Regions from separate parts of the Homo sapiens genome. Here regions 2, 3, 4 and 5 are each linked to region 1. The links are contacts of gene promoters, found by promoter capture Hi-C in blood cells and fetal thymus (Javierre and others, 2016). All regions are on one chromosome and are shown on one strand. The core of a region is centred on a gene start or on the middle of the fragment in contact, and the rest is flanking DNA. Distances in the headings are between cores, read along the strand shown. Region 1 holds the start of FOS (Fos proto-oncogene, AP-1 transcription factor subunit). Region 2 overlaps FLVCR2 (FLVCR choline and putative heme transporter 2). Region 3 overlaps FLVCR2 (FLVCR choline and putative heme transporter 2). Region 4 has its middle 26 kb from the start of FLVCR2. Region 5 has its middle 7.4 kb from the start of FLVCR2.

Region 1 (2,700 bases), core at 51-2,550:
TGTTCCACCTTGCCCCTCCTGCCAATGCTCTGCGCTCGGCCTCCTGTCATGGTCTTCACAACGCCAGCCCTGGAGTAAGCCCCAGCGGAGGGGGCGGGGACTCCGAAAGGGTGAGGGGCTCTGGTCTGCGATGGGGCCACGGAGGAGACGAGGGCGGGCTGCACCAGCCACTGCAGGTCCGGACTGGTCGAGATGGCAGTGACCGTGGGAATGAAGTTGGCACTGGAGACGGCCAGGTCCGTGCAGAAGTCCTAGAACAAAACAGAAGGGGAAAGCCGACGTGAGCGAGCAGGTTCCGGACACAGGTGGGGCGAGTTCCCAGTGCCGCATGCAGCAGTGAAGAGAAACGATCCTGCCACGGACATTTCATCTTAAATGTCCCTCATCCTGGATGAAAGGTCTCCCCCTTTTCCTCCCAGGCATTCCGCAGCGCAGTGCCTGTCTCTTCCATCCTGCCGCTGCGTTCCCGTTATCCCTTCAGCATCACTTGCTTGAAAGGGGGTTTGTTATAAATATCCCTGACGTCTGCGCTGACGCAGGCGCCGCTCCGGAGTCTCCAGAATGAACTCGCTTTTTATCAATGAAACTGCCTTACACACCCGCCCGCTGCACCCTCCTCCCTCATCCCTCCTCCGTGCTCCAGGCTGCCGGGGGAGGGGGGATTGCCGCTTTCTGCCACCTCCCCGGAGAAGCCAGGCTCTAGTTAGCGAGTTTGTGCTTGGGACACGTCTGCTCCAGCTAATGTCAGAGATCCGTCCTGGAGTGCAGACCAGAGGTTGCTCAGAACGAACCTGCCTCCCGAAGGGGGAACCAATTCTTACTATGGCAAGCGTGCGTGCGCTCAGAGCAAGTCCCGAGCCCCCGAGCCGGCACCGCTCCGGCCACGGCAGCCTCCCTCCAGGCACAAGGGAGCCCCCTACTCATCTACTGGAGCGTCCCGCCCGGTGTCTCCTCCTCCGCGACCCCAAGCCCCCGGCCCCGCGGCGACGGGAAGCCAGCCTTACCTGCGCGTTGACAGGCGAGCCCATGCTGGAGAAGGAGTCTGCGGGTGAGTGGTAGTAAGAGAGGCTATCCCCGGCCGGGGACGCGCTGCTGCAGCGGGAGGATGACGCCTCGTAGTCTGCGTTGAAGCCCGAGAACATCATCGTGGCGGTTAGGCAAAGCCGGGCGAGGGGCCGAGGGGCGGAGACAGGTGGGCGCTGTGGAGCAGAGCTGGGTAGGAGCACGGTCACTGCTCGTTCGCTGCGCCGCGGCCGCCGGCTCAGTCTTGGCTTCTCAGATGCTCGCTGCAGATGCGGTTGGAGTACGAGGCGCCGCAGCCACTGCTTTTATAACAAGCGTTTTATGAATGAGTGTAAACGTCACGGGCTCAACCACGGTGGCGCCAGAGGGGTGGCGCGCGGGCCTGGGCGCTTCTGCGGCCGCCCGGCTGCGTCCCCAGCGCTCGCAGCTCCCTGCCCCCGCCTTGGCGCGTGTCCTAATCTCGTGAGCATTTCGCAGTTCCTGTCTCAGAGGTCTCGTGGGCCCCCCAAGATGAGGGGTTTCGGGGATGGCTCCCCCCAGGGCTACAGGGAAAGGCCGTGGAAACCTGCTGACGCAGATGTCCTAATATGGACATCCTGTGTAAGGGGGGAGGGATTGACGGGAACTGCTCGCGGGCTGCAGCCAACACCGAGGGTGCAGTGCGGGGGGAGGCGGGGGCCGCGGCTGGGGGAGGGGAGGCGGGAACGGCGCAGAATGAGAGAGAACATTCGCACCTGGTTCAATGCGGACCCTTGTTCCCGAGGTCGGGGGGGATGGGGCAGAGAGCGCCTTTTTACCCTTGTACGGAAACTGAAGACAGTTCTGAGGCTCAGAGATAGGAGAAACGGCATCGAGTACAGGACCCCGAGGACTTAAGCCTCGGCTCCCGAAGGAATGCGCCCCTACCCCCATCCCCAATTCTAGCCCTAATTCAGTGCAAAGCGTGGAAGCAGACCTTCATCCCCTAACCTCCAGCCCTCGGGCTCGAGCAATACTAGCACTGTTCCTGCGTTTGGAAGCAGAAAGTGGAGGATCCAAAATAAGAGAATACGATAACCTACTTTACGATACTGGGTACTTTATTTATTTATTTTTTTAAAGAAGACAGCGCATTTATTTATTTATTTTTCTCGGCCATGTGTGGGAATATTAAGGAAACTGTCAAATCCCTGAGACACCAGCAGATAAACACTGTGCAAAACCTACGTGCGAAGACATTTGAAGGGGGTGTCTGCCCGGTTCTGAGCTGGGCCCCAGGGGTAGGGAGTGCGAGGTGTGGTTATGTGGGCAGGGTGGTCAGTTCGGGATGACAAGGCGGGGTGTGCTTCCTGCGGGGAACTCAAATCTGCGCTGAGGGCTGGTTCGGTCCCGCCAGGAAGCTGTGCTTACGGGAGCCCGCAGCGGGTGATTTTCCAGCGCGGACTTGGAGGGTGGAGGACGGGGGCTGGAAGGACAGTGTCCAGCTGCGCCTGGGCGGAATACCTCGACTGCTGGGACCCCAGGAGCGGCTCCACGTCCTGGAACACGGGGCTTTGGGGAGGCAAGGTGCTCCAGAGTGTGCCACGCCCCCCAATCTCCTGCCCTGCTGCGTAGGACAGCCGGGGTCACGCTGCCGGGGCTCAGCCCCAGCGCGCTGGCCACCTCCAGGGCGCGAAGACGCATGTCCCCGCACAGCCC
Region 2 (2,700 bases), core at 34-2,533, 310 kb before region 1:
TAAAGACCATTCTGATGAGGTGTCAGATGGAAATGAGGAACAAGGTATTGGAAACTGGAGTAAAAGCCATTCTTGTTATCTACTTGCAAAGAACTTGGCAGAATTCTGTCAGTGTCTTAGGAATTTGTGGAAGACAGAACTTAAGAGTGATGAACTAGGATATCTGGTGAAAGAAATTTCTAAGCAAAATATTGAAGGAGCTGTATTGCTACTTTGAAGCACATATAGTAAAACATGAGAGGAGAGAAATGACTAAAAGGTGGAATTAGTAATGAAAAAGAAAGCAGAGCAGAAAGATTTGGGAAATCTGAAGGCTGGCCATGTAGACTGAAAAAGTGTCCGTAGGAGAAAAACCAAGGGCGTGGCCAAGAAATCATTTGCTAAAAAAATTAGTAGACAGAAGGCAACCAGGCCTATTCATCAAGACAATGAGAGAAAAACCCTGAAGACATTTCAGAGATTGTCTAAGCAGGCTGGGGCCTTGAGGACAAGTGCTATGGTTCGGATATGATCTGAGTTTGTCCCCTCTTAAACTTATGTTGAAATTTTATCCCCAATGGGGTGGTGTTGGGAGGTGAGGCTTAGTGGGAGGCATTTGGATCATGGGGGAGGATCCTCCACCAGCTGATCTCATGGAAGCAGATTCTCACTCTCGCAAGACTAGATTAGTTCCTGCAGAAATGGGTGAGTTCCCATGATAGTGGGTTGTTTTAAAGCCAAGAGATCCCTTGGGTTTGCCTCTTTGCACGTGTCCACTTGCCCTTTAACCTTCTCTGTCATGTTATAATGTAGCATGAGAGCTACAACCCCCTGCAGGCTGCAGGCACGCCCTTGAATGTCCCAGCCTACAGAACAGTGAGGTAAATACACCTTTTCTTTATAAATGACCCAGTTTCAGGTATTCTGTTATAACAACACAAAATGATCTAAGACAGACAATTTGTACCAAGGAGTGGGGTTGTGCCATAAAGATACCTAAAAATGCAGAAGCAGCTTTGGAACTGGGTAACGGGCAGAAGTTGGAGGAGTTTGAAGAAATAGGCTAGAAAACACCTGAATTGCTGTGAACAGGGCATTAAGAGTAATTTTGATGAGGGCTCAGAAAAAGACAAAAAGATGAGGGAACGTTTGGAACTTCTCAGAGATTGGTTAGATGGTTATGACCAAAATGCTGATAGAAATATGGACAGTAAAGGCCATTCTGATGAAGGAAAGTAGCGTTTATTTGGAAACTAGAACAAAGGTCACCCATGTTATGCCACAGCAAAGAACTTGGCTGCATTGTGTCCATGCCTTAGGGCTTTATAAAATACCAAACTTAAAAATGATAACCTAGGGCATCTGGCAGGAGAAATTTCTTTTTTTTTTTCTTTTTAAAGGTGGGGTTTCACCATGTTGGCCAGGCTAGTCTCGAACTCCTGACCTCAGGTGATCCGCCCACCTCGGCCTCCCAAAGTGCTGTGATTACAGGCATGAGCCACCATGCCCGGCCTAGGCAGAAAAATTTCTAAGCAGCAAAATGCTCAAGACACAGTGTGGTTACTTTGACAGCTTAAACACAGCAAAGGAGTGACCTAAAGGTGAAATGTGTAAGAAGCAGAGCATTAAAATTTAGAAAATTTGCAGCCTGGCCAAGTGGTAGAGAATGAAAGAACATTTTCAGAAGAGGAATCTAAGGGTGCAGCCAAGGGACCTTTTGCTAAAGAGATTAGTTCTGACAGAAGGGAGCCAGGTACTAACAGAACAATGGAAAAAAGGCCCTGAAAGTATTTCAAAAGTCTAAGGCCATTCCTCCTGTCACAGACCCAGAGGCCTAGGAGGACAGAATGGTGGGATACCACTGCCCTGAGCCACCTCAGGATGCTTCTCCTAGCTGCTCTGGCCAGAGCAGCCATGGCCCAATAGCCCCAGGTACAGCTTGGGCCACTGCTCTGGAGAGTGCAAGCTGTGGGTCTTGGTGGCATCCATGTCCACATGGTACTATTGTTCATGCATGTGGAATGCAAGAGTGGTGGGCATGGCAGCTTCCACCTAGATTTCAGATGATGTATCAGCAAGCCTGGGAGCAGGCCAGGCACAGTGGCTCATGCTTGAAATCCCAACTCTTTAGGAGGATGAGGTGGGTGGATCACTTGAGTTCAGGAGTTCAAGAACAGCCTGGGCAAAATGGCAAGACCTCATCTCTACAAAACAAAAACAAAAACAAAAAAGAAACAAAATTAACCAGGTGCAGTGGTGCATGCCTGTAGTCCCAGCTACTTGGGAGGCTGAGGCTGGAAGATTGATTGAGCCTCAGAGGTCAAGGTACAGTGAGCTGTGATCACACCACTGCACTCCAGCCTGGGTGACAGAGTAAGACCCTTTGTCAAAAAAAAAAAAAAAAAAAAAAAAAGGAATGAAGAGAAAAAGAGAGCCTGGGAGCCTAGGCAGAAACCTGCCATGTGGGGGAGCCACCACAGACAGCCTCTGCTAAGACAATGCCAAGCAGAAATGTGAGGCCACAGCAGAGGACTCTTCTGCAAAGAGTCTTCACTAGGACAATGCCTAGTGGAGCCACAAGAGTAGGGCCACCGCAAGGACCCCAAAATGCTAAAGTCACTGGCAGCATGTGACCTCAGCCTGGCTAAGCTTCAGGCATTTGATTCCAACCTGTGAGTACAGCCATGTGGGCTATGTCCAGCAAAGCCATGTGATTCCAAC
Region 3 (2,700 bases), core at 42-2,541, 330 kb before region 1:
TGAGACCAGCCTGGCCAACCTGGTGAAACCCTATCTCTACTAAAAATACAAAAATTAGCTGGGCATGGTGATGTGCACCTGTAATCCCAGCTACTCGAGAGGCTGAGGCAGGAGAATCGCTTGAACCCGGGAGGCAGAGGTTGCAGTGGGCCAAGATGTGCCACTGCACTCCAGCCTGGGCAACAGAGCAAGACTCCATCTCAAAAAAAGAAAAAAGAAAAAGAAAAAGAAATCTCATGTTGAATTGTAATCTCCAGTGTCGGAGGTGGGGCCTGGTGGGAGGTGATTGGGTCAGGGGGGCAGATTTCTCATGAATGGTTTAGTGCCATCATCATTCCCTTGGTGCTCTCCTTGCAATAATGAATTCTCCTAAGATCTGGTTGTTTAAACCTGTGTGGCATCTTCCCCCTCACTCTCTCTTGCTCCTACTCTTGCCATGTGACACCCTAGCTCCATCATTGCCTTTCACCATGATTGGAAGCTTCCTAAGGCCCCGCCAGAAGTCAAGCAGATGCTGGCACCATGCTTCCTGTACAGCCTGCAGAACCATGAGCCAATTAAACCTCTTTTCTTTATATATCACCCAGCCTCAGATATTCCTTTATAGCAATCCAAAATGGACTAACACAAGCTCCATCTCCCAGGACCATGTCCACCTGGGGAATTATGTGGAAGTGACTTCCACACTCATTGCCCATGCCCACACAGTGCTGTGTGCATTGAAACACCACAAAGTTGGTACTATTTAGGCAAGTCTGCACACTCCAGTCCATAATTCTGTTGCTATAAATACTGCTCTCTACCCCTTGGCCAGCATCATTTAGATGTTTGCTTATACCTGCTAGTGAATAACTGATCTAGCAACATGGAGAATAAACAAGGGCTCCAAGACCTCAAGTGGAGGAGACCAGGCTAGAGTGAAGGCACTCTGCCAGGCAAGCTACCTTGGGACATGTAGTCGAGGTTTGGCAGGGGGTCTTGGGACTGAGTCTGCGGATGCCCCAGAAAGAAGCAAGGAGAGTCCAAGGTGGCTGCTGGGGCTGAGAGACACTGCAAAACTAAGAACCCAGAGCTTGAGCTTAATCATGAGAATGAGCCCCGAGCACCCAGGAATGCCAGGCGGCTCCACGGTAACCGATAATGTCCAGGCAAAGACCGCTCATATGACTGTTATTTGTGAAATCTCCAAATCCAAGGCTTCTTTTGAAAAGGTCAACTCGGGATCAAGGAGGTAGCAGGCCTTCAAAGACAAAGACAATCTAAACAACCTCATTGATTTGGTGGAAAATCACTCAGGAAGGGGGTTTATGGATTTAAAGGCTAAGCTAAGATCTCTAAGAACTTAGGGAGTAGGGTTACAGCTGGCCAACTCCAGACTTCCTTCAAGCTCCCGCCCCCGTCACAGGGTTTGTCCTGAAAGCTGTGATTATGCTGGTGGCTTTTACTGCCCTGACTCCTGGATTCCCTCAGTTCTTTGGGTGAAAGAGGTTAGAGAAATGCAGGAAGCAGCAGCTACTGAAATTAGGATAGCCTACAATCATTGATCCCTAGGGAAGATAATAATAGCGATGAGAGCTGATACACTGTGCTCAAAGCACCCTATAAATATATATACTCTTTGAATCATTTTATTTTTTAATTATTAATTTTTTTCTTTTGGGGGGCAACACTTCACTCCATAAAATAGAAGGCGTGCTCCCCTAATGTCTATTTTAAAGTGGAGGAAATTGGCATTTAAGTAGCTTGCCCAAGGTCACATAACAGTAAGCGATGAGGCTAAACTTCAAGCTCTGGCCATCAGTACTCATCTGTACTCTTATCCATTAGGTTAAAGGCGCTGGTCTTAAATGTTACTCAAACCAGGAGGAAGGAGGTGAATATGTACTGAGTGTCTGCTATGTGTTAGACAGCATGCTAAAGGCTTTTTCACATGATATTTCATCTATGCCCTCACAACTACCCCCTGAAGTTGGCACCATCATCTCTGGTTTGGGTTTTGTTTGTGGGTTTTTTTGTTTGTTTGTTTGTTTGTTTGTGAGACAGGGTCTCACTCTGTTGCCCAGGCTAGTGCAGTGGTGCGATCTCGGCTCACTGAAGCTTCTACTTCCCTGGCTCAAGCAATCCTCTCACCTCGGCCTCCCAAGTAGCTGCGACCACAGACATGCGCCCAACACACCTGGCTAATTTTTTGTATTTTTAGGAGAGACGGGGTTTCACCATGTTGCCCAGGTTGGTCTCGAACTCCTGGGCTCAAGCAATTCACCTGCCTCGGCCTCCCAAAGCGCTGGGATTACAGGCATGAGCCACTGTGCCTTGGCCTCTGGTTTGGTTTTTACAGATGAGAAAGCCTCTATAATTTGCCCAAGGTCAAAACAGCTTCTCCTGGCAAAACTGAGATTCATACCCTTGGCTATCTGATTCCAAAGCCCTCAACGGACAAGGTGAATGCCACAGAAAAGTGACTGCCCTCACACCCGACACTCCCTCCAGTCTCATATGCTCCATTCTGTAGTTCAAATGTCCCCAAATGTGTAGCTGTCGGAGGAAGCAAGGGTGAGAGGTGTCTCCAGCTACAGTTTGGTTTCTTTGCCACAGTTACACTTTACAGGTTTCTTGTTTTTATGTCATGCTTAGTTTTGTTTCTTTTTGTGTAGTGTGTTGTCTCCCAAACTAAACTGTTAGTACCTTGAGGACAGGGAC
Region 4 (2,700 bases), core at 44-2,543, 270 kb before region 1:
TCCTTATCTTCTATGCACATTAAAAAGCAACAATGCAAAGTACTATATGGAATCAACCCAAGCATCCACCAACAGATGAACAGATAAAATGTGGTACATATACACAATGCGATATTATTTAGCCATAAAAAAGAATGAAATCCTGTCATTTGCAGCAACATAGATGAGCCTGGAGGACATTATGTTAAGTGAAATAAGCCAGACACAGAAAGATAAACACCACATGTTCTCACTCACATGCAGAAGCTAAAGAAGTTGAACTCATAGAAGTAAAGTGTGGAATAGTGGTTACTAGAGGCTGGAAAGGCAGGGCAGAGATGAGGACGACATAATGAGAGGATGGTTAAAGAATACCAAATTACAGCTAAATGAGAGGAATAAGTCCTAGTGTCTTAGCACTGATGGGTGACTACAGTTAACAATAACTTATTGTATGTTTTCAAATAGCTAGAAGAGAGGATTTTGAATGTTCCCAACACAAAGCAAAGCTGGGTGTGGTGGCAGACACCTGTAGTCCCAACTACTCAGGAGACTGAGGCAGGAGAATTACTTGAACCTGTGAAGTGTAGGTTGCAGTGAGCCGAGAGCCAAGATTGCGTCACGGCACTCCAGCCTGGGTGACAAGAGCAAGACTCCATCTCAAAAAAAAAAAAAAAAAAAAAATGAAGAGTCATGGTCCCCACCTGAGAAGATGAGAGGGAGATTCTAGGCAGAGGAAATGATGCATGAGCAAAGGCTTAGAGAGAGGAAAGTGCCAGATACGGTGAAGGACGTGGCTTTTTCAGCCTGGTCAATACACAGGGTTTGTTTCTGAGAAAGGGATGGACAAGCGTGTCAGGGTAGGTTGGTGGCCTGATGGGCTGGTGCCCTAGAAGCAGTAGGGCCAGCTGCAGGGGTGCTCCACCTCTGTACTACTGATGTTTTGAGCTGGATTATTGTTTGTGGGGTGTGCCCTGTGCATTGCAGCATGCTTAGCAACAACATTTCTGGCCTCTTCCCACTAGATGTTACTAGTACCTCTCTCCCAAGCTGTAACAACTAAAAATATCTCCAGACATTGTCAAATATCTTGGGGAATGGGGAGGATCACCCCCAGTTAGGAACCACTGAGCTAGGGGAATTGTTTAAATTCCTTATTTGGTTGTTCCATTGGCTCCTGCATTAGACAGAATTGAGTTAAGCTGCACTTAGAAAACCCAACTCAAGGTGATGTAACCAAATAAACTCTTTTCCACTTTCACTTAGAAGCCGTCTAGAAGTGGGCCAGCTGGAGCTTCTATCATCTTCACACTTCTGCAGTATTACCAGGGACGCAGAATCTCTTCCTCCTTTGTGTACACGGTTGCTTCACCTCTAACACCATATCTGCCTTCCAGACAGAAAGGAGGAGAAAGGCATGTGCCAACTGAGACAGCCCCACCTTTTGAAGAGCTTTCCCATAAAAGTCTTACCTAGCAAATTCTTGCATATCTCTTTGGCCAGAACTGTGCCATATGGCCATCCCAAACATCAAAGGAATCTGGGATATGTAATCTTTTCTCTAGGCATATTGCCATCTTAGACAAAACAAGAGTTCCGTAGTAAGGAAAAATGGAAGAATAGCTTTGGGAGGGCAATTATCAGTCTCAGCTACCCCTCCTAGCCTTGGTTTCTAGGTGTAATGACAAACTCAGCAATCTGTCTACAGGAATCTTCCAGAGGAAGCCAAAGAAACCTCCTGGGTAGCAAAGGTATTTGTGCAAATTTTCCTATTGAAGTCCTCTAAAAGGGGGCTCTTCATCTCTACCTACCAGTAGATTGTTCAAACCAGGATCAGGTTTTTATTTTATCTTCCTATAAGTGATTAAATTAAATCACATATCAGGTGGTTAAAAAACAAGATTTTTCAAGACCAGCCTAACCAATATGGTGAAACACCATCTCCACAAAAAAAAAAAAAAAAAAAAAAAAAAAAAATTATCTGGGCGTGGTGGCGCATGCTTGTAATCCCAGCAACTCAGGAGGCTGAGACAGGAGAATTGCTTGAATCCGGGCGGTGGAGGTTGCAGTGAGCCGAGATCGCACCACTGCACTCCAGCTTGGGCAACAGAGTGGGACTCAGTCAAAAAAAAAAAACACACACACACACACAAACCCACAAGAGTTTTAGAAGGGCTACATCTCTCTTTCCCTCCCATCCCCATCTCCCACTCCTCTGGTATCTACATGAGGCCAATGCAGTCACATGTCATTCCCATGGCAAGAATTCCATTAAATATCTCCTCTGCTCACTTGCTACAAAGCCTAAAATGCTACCATAAAAACTCTTTCCTTTGGGTCAAGTGTTACTTTCTCTAGGCATCTCTCTTTTTTGTTTTAGAGACAGGGTTTTGCATCTCGCTTTGTTGCCCAGGTTGGAGTGCAGTGATGCAATCATAGCTCACTATAGCCTTGAGCTCCTAGGTGTCTCTTAAAATGACAGTCTCCTCTGGCAGAAACGAGTATTAAATCTTTACTACGTTGGTGTTGATCTTAGTTCACTAGCCCTTTCTCCCCCTTGGAATTCCCAAGCAGCTTTGGAGCACTGAACCCGTGGGGAAGAAGGAAGAGAAATAGAGATAGCCTATCTGTCCCCAAGAGAAGTGGGGCATCCAGTAGTCTCACCTCCTTCCCCGTAAAGCCACAACTGTAACATCGGCTGGAGGTATTAATAAACTGCTG
Region 5 (2,700 bases), core at 17-2,516, 290 kb before region 1:
TAGCTCCCAGTGAGCCAAGCCTGAAGACTAAGGATTCCCCAGATCCCCCTTCACTCACTCTCAGTGTCACAGATGCTTCTTTCCTTACAGTCTTCCCTCCTGTCCTTTCTCACTGCCACCACCCTGCTGCAGCCTCTCCTGGCTTCTCACCTCCAACCCACGGCTGCCTCCTCGTTGTTCTCGCTCCTTCCAGTTCAGCCGGATGTCGCCTCACAGGATTTTCCAGTTCTCTTCAGGTCACTCCCTGCCTTGAACCCTCCAGTGGCCACCAAAACAAGGAAGGAAACCTAGAGAGGGTGAGAGGTTAAGGCTGAGGAAACCAGGAATCTGCCACTAGAGGCAAGCACTCCTCAGCTCTGCACACAAGGTCTTTGTGATGTTGTTCTGGCCACATCTCCCACCACTGTCCACTCCCCACCTTTTGCTCCAGACAGGTGGAGCCACCTGCAGCTCCCCATAAGCGTGCTTCACAATGCAGGGCAAGCGTCCCCTCCTCCAGGAAGCCTTCCCCCATGCCCTAAGTGTGACTCAGAGATTTCTTTCCATCCCTGCATGTGCAGCTTTGTGGTAGCTCCTGTCACACAGTTTCATAAATGTTTGTTTACTTCTTCAAGTTAACGACTCAGTGTGCGCTCCTCAAGCTTAGAAATGATGGCCTATTCATCTTCAAATCCCAACCTCTAGTGTCGCGTCTGGCCCGCAGAAGGAAAATGAAGGCCTGACTGCATTGACTTTTTGGATGCATTTCCTAGATGAGTCCTATTTCTAGGTGGCCTCACAAGAAATAAAAACATGTCCAGCTTGTTCCGGATGCTCATATCTCCTTGGTTGATTGTGTCTTCCTTTCTCTTTTCTGGAATGTGTCCCCTGTGGTGTTTGGGCCCCACTGCCACACCTCACAGAGCCCATGGGTGGGAAAGTTGGGAGGGCATTCCTGTGCCATGGGGGAGTCTAGATTTCTTCTCCTCCAGGGCCCTCCCAGCTCAGAGTCTCCAAGTCTGTCCTAGAAGGGAATGTGCTCAGGGGCTGCTGAGGATTCAGAGAAGAAGAAGATCCATTTTTCTCAGACGAGAGTCTAGAAGAAAGGCCTCCTAGCTGGACATGTAGATGCTGGGCTCTGCCCGGGACACATGGTTTGAAATAGACATTTCAGTTCCCTGGAAGTACATGAGTACATCTGGAAAGGCCTCAGATGGTATCAATCCTCCTCTAAAGACAAGGTCCCTGTACGTGGGTCACATTTTGTATCCTCAGCTGCATGTCCTTGGGTGTGATCATGGGTGGCCACTGTGTTATTCTTCATACCTGTTCTATATTTTAAATGCTTCTTAATAATTAGAAAACCAAAAAAAAAAGTTGCCCCATAAATATGAGAAAGAGCTAACTAAAAAACATGAGTCAAAGAGGAAGGAGACATTAAAATGGCTTGTCTTTTTGCATAATCTATAGAAAGCCCGGAGGTGTGAGGCTCCCTTTTCATAATGGAATAGAGAAACGGGGGTAGCAGCAAGATTTGTTGATTGCCAGGGCAACAGTTAAAGGCACATGGCATGACAAAGCAGAGGGGTGCTGGCTGGGCAGGGTTATGCAATGCTGGAGCCACAGTGACAGAGAAAGGACACACAAAGTCATCTCAGCCAGCCCCTTGATGTACAGGGTATAATACCTGGGCCCAGGGGACTGTCTTAACAGAGTCATTCATTTACCCACCATTGATCTCCTGCAGGCCAGGCACTGTGCTGGGTGTAAAGGAAACAAATTCAACAAAGATGAGGCTCTTGCCCTCCAAGAATCCACAAAGTAGTGGTGAGACAGTTATGTGAGCAGATCATTGCCAGGTGGTACAATAAATGTGTGGTCCATGCTGGTTCATGGGACTCCCAAAGCTTAGAGTCAAGGGGGGCTTCTCAGAGAGATGCTAGGTCGGGATCTTGAGGGATAGATGAGACTTAGCCAGGCCCTGTGGCAGGTGCTGAAGATCCTAGGAGTGAGCAAAACAAACGTGGTCCCTCCCTACCTTCATGGAGCTTACAGTGTCCTTGAGAGGACAAACATCAATCAAACACTTACATACACACATAAGTAAAATTATAAGTGCTATGAGGGTTATTTGTAAGAATTTATATAGATGGAACAGATGAGTGGGATCTTAAGCAATACGTTTTTAAAAAGTTAGACTTATGGCTCATGCTTGTAATCCCAGGACTTTGGGAGACTGAGGGGGCTGGATCACCTGAGGCCAGGAGTTCGAGACCAGCCTGGCCAACATGGTGAAACTCGGTCTCTACTAAAAATACAAAAAAAATTAGCCATGCATGGTGGCAGGTGCCTGTAGTCCCAGCTACTTTGGAGGCTGAGGCAGGAGGATCGCTTGAACCTGGGAGGCAGAGGTTGCAGTGAGCCAAGAGCATGCCACTGCACTCCAGCCTGGGTGACAGAGTGACTCCATCTCAAAAAATAAAAATAAAAATAAAATAAAAGTGAGACTTAACTTGGTGAAAGAGGGGGGAAGGGCTTTCCAGGAAGAGGGAACAGAATGTGCAAGGCCCTGAACCAGGAGGGAGCAGGGCCCTTTTAAGCCACAAAGCCAATGAGGCTGGAGCAGAGTGAGGGTGAGAAGCAAAGCCAACGTGGTTGGAGAGAGAGGCAGCAGCCAGATTGCACGGGCCTTATTGAGGGCTTTTCTGTTTTTGTTTGTTA

The links. The method cuts DNA at HindIII sites, captures the fragments that hold promoters and counts their contacts. A CHiCAGO score of 5 or more calls a contact.
Region 2: a contact is called between a fragment that was not itself captured here and the fragment with the promoter of FOS in region 1, in 1 of 17 cell types (M2 macrophages). The highest score is 5.1, in M2 macrophages.
Region 3: a fragment that was not itself captured here is called in contact with the fragment with the promoter of FOS in region 1 in 1 of 17 cell types (monocytes); the score reaches 5.5 in monocytes.
Region 4: a contact is called between a fragment that was not itself captured here and the fragment with the promoter of FOS in region 1, in 1 of 17 cell types (activated CD4 T cells). The highest score is 11.4, in activated CD4 T cells.
Region 5: a contact is called between a fragment that was not itself captured here and the fragment with the promoter of FOS in region 1, in 1 of 17 cell types (activated CD4 T cells). The highest score is 6.5, in activated CD4 T cells.

The regions. Positions count from the first base shown.
Region 1 is chr14:75,277,428-75,280,127 of GRCh38, reverse strand. FOS (Fos proto-oncogene, AP-1 transcription factor subunit) reads right to left here and starts at 1,300. Exons shown (of 4, transcript NM_005252.4): 1 at 1,005-1,300; 2 at 1-251. The coding sequence starts at 1,145. RefSeq lists enhancers at 1-382, 969-1,028, 383-1,310 and silencers at 1,399-1,458, 1,809-1,898, 2,627-2,700. The HindIII fragment of the contact is 6,704 bases long and covers 1-2,700 here.
Region 2 is chr14:75,591,499-75,594,198 of GRCh38, reverse strand. All of the region lies in intron 1 of FLVCR2 (FLVCR choline and putative heme transporter 2), which reads right to left. Among named protein-coding and RNA genes, the nearest start is that of FLVCR2-AS1, 13 kb to the right of the region's middle. The HindIII fragment of the contact is 2,694 bases long and covers 1-2,630 here.
Region 3 is chr14:75,611,072-75,613,771 of GRCh38, reverse strand. The region is part of intron 1 of FLVCR2 (FLVCR choline and putative heme transporter 2); the gene reads right to left. It also overlaps the pseudogene RNA5SP387. Among named protein-coding and RNA genes, the nearest start is that of FLVCR2-AS1, 33 kb to the right of the region's middle. The HindIII fragment of the contact is 1,616 bases long and covers 484-2,099 here.
Region 4 is chr14:75,551,400-75,554,099 of GRCh38, reverse strand. No RefSeq gene overlaps it. Among named protein-coding and RNA genes, the nearest start is that of FLVCR2, 26 kb to the left of the region's middle. The HindIII fragment of the contact is 4,651 bases long and covers 1-2,700 here.
Region 5 is chr14:75,569,871-75,572,570 of GRCh38, reverse strand. No RefSeq gene overlaps it. Among named protein-coding and RNA genes, the nearest start is that of FLVCR2, 7.4 kb to the left of the region's middle. The HindIII fragment of the contact is 1,245 bases long and covers 644-1,888 here.